Linked DNA regions of Homo sapiens: region 1 is linked to region 2. Evidence: promoter capture Hi-C in 16 types of primary human blood cells and fetal thymus (Javierre and others, 2016). All regions are on one chromosome and are shown on one strand. Each heading gives the region's core, a stretch centred on a gene start or on the middle of the fragment in contact. The rest is flanking DNA. Distances are from core to core; before and after follow the strand shown. Region 1 overlaps SDCCAG8 (SHH signaling and ciliogenesis regulator SDCCAG8). Region 2 holds the start of ADSS2 (adenylosuccinate synthase 2).

Evidence for each region. The method cuts DNA at HindIII sites, captures the fragments that hold promoters and counts their contacts. A CHiCAGO score of 5 or more calls a contact.
Region 1: a fragment that was not itself captured here is called in contact with the fragment with the promoter of ADSS2 in region 2 in 2 of 17 cell types (neutrophils and monocytes); the score reaches 6.1 in neutrophils.

What each region holds. Positions count from the first base shown.
Region 1 is chr1:243,345,905-243,349,807 of GRCh38, reverse strand. All of the region lies in intron 12 of SDCCAG8 (SHH signaling and ciliogenesis regulator SDCCAG8), which reads right to left. MIR4677 (microRNA 4677) reads right to left here and starts at 3,632; the gene lies at 3,553-3,632. The HindIII fragment of the contact is 6,251 bases long and covers 1-3,903 here.
Region 2 is chr1:244,449,700-244,453,306 of GRCh38, reverse strand. It overlaps ADSS2 (adenylosuccinate synthase 2), which reads left to right and starts at 1,398. Exons shown (of 13, transcript NM_001126.5): 1 at 1,398-1,672. The coding sequence starts at 1,490. It also overlaps a transcript of CATSPERE not described here. RefSeq lists silencers at 1,009-1,498, 1,939-2,218. The HindIII fragment of the contact is 6,677 bases long and covers 1-3,607 here.

The sequences.
Region 1 (3,903 bases), core at 137-2,636, 1.1 Mb after region 2:
CTTATCTCTGAAAAATAAAATTGGAACCAACCTAAAAACAAAATTGTAAATATAAAATCATACGGTATTTACACTCCCATCCAAGCCACTAGTAAGTCATGTGCCACTAATAAGAAAATGCCATGATTATCAGTGATACACTCGCTGAGTAATGCCATTAGATTTTTAAGAGACTAAAGATGTGGCACATTTGTTATACTGCAAAATACTCTAAAACCATTGTTATTATTTAAGATACATGGGTCTTCAAACTCAAAGCTCAGCATCCTAGTAAGTCAGAGGAAACTTAAAAAATACAGTTGTATTTCTATACTCAAGGTAGGGATTGGCAACTTTTTCTGTAAAGGGTCAGACAGTAAATATTTTAGGCTTTGTGGGCTATATGGTCTCTACCACAACTCCTCAACTCTGCTGTTGTTGCAGGAAGTAGCAATAGGTGATACATATATGAGTAGGTATGGCTGAGTTCTAATAAAACTTTATTTGTAACATAGACAGCAGGCCAGACTTGACCTATGAGCTGTAGTTGGCTAACACTTTTTTATGAATACTGGGCACATTAGCATATTGAATATGCATATGTGTCTGTATATGTGAGTGGGGATATATACACATATATTAGTATGCAAAATCTCCATTTGCCCATCCCCCTGGTTATGGCAGTTTCTTGGGCACGTGATCAGTGCAGTCACACATGTGCTGTTCAGAAGGGTCCTTACACTTGCAGTTTAATACTCTGTGGTCAATGTCTTGAAATTATTAGCAATTGTATCTTAGAATTGTGTTTTTTTTTTTTTGTTTTGTTTGTTTTGTTTTTATCCAAGACAGGGTTTCGCTCTTGTTGCCCAGGCTGGAGTGCAGTGGCGTGATCTCGGCTCACCACAACGTCCGCCTCCTGGGTTCAAGCAATTCTCCTGCCTCACCCTCCTGAGTAGCTGGGATTACAGGCATGTGCCATCATGTCCGGCTAATTTTTTTTTTTTTTTTTTGTATTTTTAGTAGAGACGGGGTTTCTCCATATTGGTCAGGCTGGTCTCAAACTCCCGACCTCAGGTGATCCGCCACCTCGGCCTCCCAAAGCGCTGGGATTACAGGCGTGAGCCACCACGCCCGGCTAGAATTGTGTTTTGTAGGTGTACTCTGATGGAACAATGGAGACTGAACTCCTGTATGTGGTCTCATCTTTCCACTGCCTCACTGCAGCCCTACGCAGTTCTCAGAAATATACTCCTCTCCAGCTTCCTCTATCCCGCCCTGCCCTGCTGCTGGGGTGGGTCCCTCCACCTAGGGTGGGACCAGGGCACTGGGGGAGGTGCGTATGTCACTGGGGGAGGTGTGTGTTCTCCTGTGTCTTTTGCCCCTGGCAGAATCCTGAATGTGTGTTTAGAGAGGATTGAGTCAAGTGTGCCCATCCCTGCCATCTTAGAGCTGGACAGGGAGGTAAGAATTCCCGCCCCAGGCCGGGCGCGGTGGCTCATGCCTGTAATCCCAGCACTTTGGGAGGCCGAGGCCGGCGGATCAAGAGGTCAGGAGATCGAGACCATCCTGGCTAACACGGCGAAACCCCGTCTCTACTAAAAATACAAAAAAAAAAAAAAAAAAAAATTAGCCGGGCGTGGTCGTGGGCGCCTGTGGTCCCAGCTACTCGGGAGGCTGAGGCGGGAGAATGGCATGAACCCGGGAGGCGGAGCTTGCAGTGAGCCGAGATCGCGCCACTGCACTCCAGCCTGGGCGACAGAGGGAGACTCCGTCCTAAAAAAAAAAAAAAAAGAAAAAAAAAAAAAATGCATGTCCAGCCTGGGTTGGTGAGGGAGGAGGGGCAAGGAGAGAGAGACTGAAGAAGAAAGGAAAATGTTTTATATTTTAGTTCTTTTTAATATCACTTCTTTCCTGCTTTCTGAACAAAAGGGTCCTGTATTTTCACTTTGCACTGGGCCCTAATCAAAGGTTAGCGGCTATAAAGAATCGTCTTCTCAGATTAATTTACCAAAAGGGAAGTTGACAAAAAAACTCTATTTCTGCATCACTCATTTCAGGTCAGCTCATCCTTGTCATGTTAGGGCCTCCTGCAACATGTCCAAATCTTAAATACAAGGCTGTGAAATTAATGCTGAATTTGGGGTTTCGGATGCGAGGAAGCTCCTTTTGGGATATGATTATCAGGAATGCTGCGTGGTAGCCATTTCCTTCACATACTTTGCTGTAGGATTAATTTATACCTCTTTAGAATGACAATGAGGCATTTTATAAAAATAAAGCATAATCAAAACATTATGTACAAAATTTAACAGACAACAACAAAGAAAGATGAAATTTTACTAAGAGTTCTGTTTATTTCCTATTAAAAAGGGTAACACCAGAAAATTGGACATACAAAAACATACTTGTTCTCCTAATTTGAATAAACCAACTGTAAAATCAACATTTTTGAGACAAAGAAATGTGAATATAGGCTGGGTGTTATTTGATATTAAAGAAGTATTGTTAACATTGTTAGGTATGATAATGACATAGTATGTAAAAATATCCTTCATAGATCCACATGGGTATTTATGAGTAAAATAACATAAGGTCTGAGATCCATTTAAAATACTTCTGCAAAAGAAGAAAAAGAGGTAGAGGAAGAAGACAGAAGAAGATGAAGATGAGAAGGTGGAGCAGAAAAAACATGACAAAGAAGATGAAGGTGACGATGAGGACAGAAGTAGAGAGAAAAAAGTGAGATAGATGGAATAGGATTGAGGAGGAGGACTGGCAAAATGATGAGTGATGGAATAGGATTGAGGAAGGGGACTGGCAAAATGATGAGTGATGGAATAGGACTGAGGAAGAGGACGGGCAAAATGATGAGTGTAGGTGATGGAAATGTGAGGACTCATTACAATATTCCCTATACCCTCATACATGTTTTTAAATTCCCCTGATCGAGTGTGTGTGTGTGTATAACCATTGCCTAAAAAAATTTCTCATAAAAATCAAAGAGCATATTTCACATTCTCCTCCATACCAAATGCCTCTTTTTCTGGTGCAAGAAGCATCCTCTGAGGCTGACAGGAATTCTCTAAGCTGAAGAGATACAAAGGAGTTGATGGGAAGGATAATCCGCCCATCGGTTCCTGACACAATATAAAGAAGAAAAGAAGAAAGTGGGTGGAAGCGACTGCCATTGTTACTCTCCTAACCTTTCCTTCTAATTATGCCAGAGCCAAGGCTCAGGTCACAAGGAAAATTATTTTGGTGGTTAACCATTTGCCCTATTTTGTATACATCAAAAAAGCTGTTGTTCTCACACATTCCAATCTCACAGTTTCCCACCCACTTTAAAAATGTATCAAGTGGTCAGATGAACTAAAATATGAATAAAATGACTATATTATGAAGAACACCTTGTTTGCAAACCTACAGATAGCCTGCTTGTGATGCTGAATTGTAAGATACACAACACTTAAACATTTAATCTACTTTATATTATTGTAGGTATTTCAGATAAATGCTCAACATGCCCCGCTTTTAAAAGTTAAATGTAAATTTCTCTCTTGAGTGCAGATGGTGGCCAAGCAAAGTAGTTCTTTGGTCTCACAGACAGAAGGTCAGGTCATGGCTGAAAGACCAAAGAACAATTGCTGCTTTGCTACTCCAAATCATCCATGGAATGAGACACCACGACTTCTTTTCTGAAACTGTCTGTTCAATACAAAACAGTTAAAAAGAGTACCTATAAGATTTCCTCACATTCCGTCTGGGAAAAAAAAATGGTAACAAGCACATCACTTCACAACACATCACAAACATCTTGTAACTGTTCAGAGGTTTTATTCCTAAAGCTGTGACCTCCTAAAAAGGCACATCTCTATCTAAAAACATACCACTAAACGTCATTATGAAAACTACTATTGTTTCACT
Region 2 (3,607 bases), core at 149-2,648:
TTCAGTATCTACTATCTGCCCAACACTACCTCGGGCATTTGACTAGAAAGAAATAGATGGCATTCTTGTTTCCAAAATGTTTGTGATCTTGTAATAAGGCCAAGATAGACAACAATTATCACATAGTATTATAATTGTTTACTAATCAATAGACCAAATAATTTGAATCCTTGAGGGCTGAATTGTATCTTTATTTCTCCTATGTTATCAGTGCCCAGGACACTTAGTTAGTTAATAGCAGGTTCTCAATGTTCCTGACTTAACTCATTGACTAGAAATAAAATACTAAAGTGTACTCTAGGGACCATTAGTGAACATACAGTATGTACAGGCGATTTGGGAGACGGTACATATAATGTGATTCCATTCCCACTTTTTTTCGAAGCACCTTTTATCAGAATTAAACATCATAGTTAATTTGTGTTGGTGTCGAAAGGGCATTAGATGAACAGTAGGTATACACCAGAATCTAGTTACAAATGTAACTGAGAGACAGTGGAATCTACAGGAAGGACATGGGCTCTGGACTTAGATTATCGAAGTACCAATTCAAGCCTCACTAGGGCAAGTTACCCAGCTTTTAAATCCTGTAAAATAAGGATAATAGAGGATCACCTACCTTATATGGTTGTGGGGATTAAAAAATAAAGAAGTGCATGACGGTATCTGCATATATGTACTATATGCGACATAGGTAATCCACTCCTCCTCTCTGAGCCTTTGTTACTACTATGTAAAATGAGGATTAGGACTTTATTTGATCTATTGATTTCAGGTCTCATGTCCTTTATCTTATTGCCTTACTTTTGAATTTTGTCTTTTTTGATCCCTGTCCCCATCTCTGTTACTTCCGGACTTTTAATTTCCAATTCTACACTTACACGTTCCGATTTTATGCTGTTTGTACTGCGAAATTCCACAGTTTGTATTTTGTACACATTCATTCCTTAATAAAGACAAATCCAGACAAACCTGCAGATGGCAGACACAGTGGCCCCAGAATACACCGCCGCAGCCCAGAGCGTTGCATGCTGGGATTTGTAGTCCGACGCTCCACACGCGCTTCCGCGCCTCTCCAGTTTGAAAGCGAGAGGTAGAGCGGGTAGGCGGGGTGCTGAAGGAGAAGCGCTCTCGAAGCCCCGCCCCTGACCTTTTCCGCTCGCGAGGTTTGCACGGGAGTGGCGCGCCAGGCCGCGGAAGGGGCGTGGCCTCGGTCCGGGGTGGCGGCCGTTGCCGCCACCAGGGCCTCTTCCTGCGGGCGGTGCTGCCGAGGCCGGCCTGCGCGGGGCAGTCATGGTACCCCCTTGAGCGGGCTGTGGCGGAGAGCGGGGCGGGGACTGGCTGGAGGGTGGCGGCCCGGCGGGGCGGGGGCGGGGCCGGCCTCTGGCTCCTTCTTCCTCTGCATGTGGCTGGCGGCCGCAGAGCAGTTCAGTTCGCTCACTCCTCGCCGGCCGCCTCTCCTTCGGGCTCTCCTCGCGTCACTGGAGCCATGGCGTTCGCCGAGACCTACCCGGCGGCATCCTCCCTGCCCAACGGCGATTGCGGCCGCCCCAGGGCGCGGCCCGGAGGAAACCGGGTGACGGTGGTGCTCGGTGCGCAGTGGGGCGACGAAGGCAAAGGGAAGGTGGTGGACCTGCTGGCGCAGGACGCCGACATCGTGTGCCGCTGCCAGGTGAGGCGACGGGGCCTCTCATGGGAAGCCGGGCCCGGGAGCTCGGGCTGCCTGGCTCCTGGTGCCCGGGAACTCGGACCCAGAACCCGGATCCACTGGCCAAAATGAGGTGTCACCTTGAGGCTCTCTCCTCCTGTCCTGAGCTGCGGCTACGTGGAGAAATGGCGGGAGGTCGGGGACCCCTGACCTGGAGCGTCGGGTGAAACTTGGGGTGGCCCTGGAGGAAGAGGTGGGCTGGCGGGGAGCCTTTGAGAGATGCGCGATGCCTGGCAGTTGCAGTTTTGCGTCTGGCGAGTGGTGCTCAGCGCCGGGACTGAGGCCGGGGTGGAGGTGGGATGCGGTCCGAGTTTGAGGAGCTACCGCCCGAGGCCTGCTCCCAACTCTTCCGACTGCGGGCGGAGACCCGGCGCGACGGCAGAACCCCCCATCACCGCCCCCCCGCCCCGCCCAGGGCGGCGGAGTGGGAGTGGATTGTTTCGAAACGTCCTGAAATCAGACTCACCGATCCCCCATCTGCAGGACCGTGGCATGCAGTGCTTTGCTTCCTCTGGTCCACTTTGTTGACATCCAAACCCACCCACCTCTGGGCTTTGGACTGTTGTTTTAGGGCCCTGAGTTTCTTGTTTTTGTTTTTGTTTTTACAGTGTGCTCCATACATGAAAGTTAAGGAGAAATTACTTTTACTAGTTGGTCCCAGAGGAAGGAATCCCTTCTCTGTTCAAAAAAAGTGAGGGAAGTAAATACATGGATGTCAAATTGAGTATTTGGAAATAAATATTTGCATTGTTAAGGTGACATCGAAAGTGAACTTTCGGAAAACGAGGTGGTAATGTACTTCTAACGGGAGACACGTGGTTTTCAGTGTAACCTTTCTTCCTATTTGTCGTTTCCTTTGACGCAGCATACAGGGTAAGGCCTTTGTAAAGGCTCTCAGATAACTCTCTCCAGTTTCAAAATTCTAAGCAGATGAGCAATAACCACTTTCAAAACAAAGCATAATGTAATATTTGAAGTTAACTGCTATCTGTTTAGGTTGCAAGAATATTTGTTTTTGAACATGCATGGCATGATATGATGGTGCCATGCTGTATATGTTCTAGTAAGTTATAGGCCCCCTTGAATACCATTTTGAGCATGCAGAAACAATGAAATCACAGGTATGTTAAAAAGCTAAATGCAAATACTGCAAATATTCTCTGATTTACCTTGTTTCGTTTTGTTTTGTTTTCATTTAGAAATCCACCCTGCCCATTCTGAAATAGCTGTTGCACTAATTGCCTCTTAGGAAACTGTCACTACCACCTCTCCCTCCTTCCCTTCCAGCCTATTATTTCTCCACCCCTCTGGCAACACACTTTGTACCTTAGCAATCTTCAGGGTGTTGCCATTAAATTCCTGCCCCGCACTTTCTTAGGAAATACTCCAGAAATCCAGCCTTTACCTACCTTTTGTCTTACATTCAGATCTGGTCATGCTGTGGGGAAGACGTATCCGAATACCGAGCTTTCTTGCTGTCGACAGCGGGAGAGAGGCTGAGGCCTGTGTGTCTCCTTCACTGACATCTTGACATCTCGTTAATATGGAAATAGCTCAGGTTGAGCTACACTATGGGTTGTAAGAAGGTTTGGAGAACACAACCATTATGGTATTTATTCTAAAGGATCCTCAATTTTAATATTCTATGGAGAAATATTAGAAGTAGTTTGTAGCTTGGAGAAGGTGTTACTAATGTTACCGAGAAAGTAGTCTTGAAGTCATGGACCAACCTGATCTGATGCCCTTGGAAAGGCTAGAGAAGTGATTGAGAAGGAACTAAGTTTGGCTTTAAAATGTTAGCTGAAGATAGTGGAGAAACAAATGAGGGGCCTTGTTGGGCAGACTTCCCTCACCTGTGTATTTTTGACTTAACTACCTTCCTTATAGAATCCTTATGTT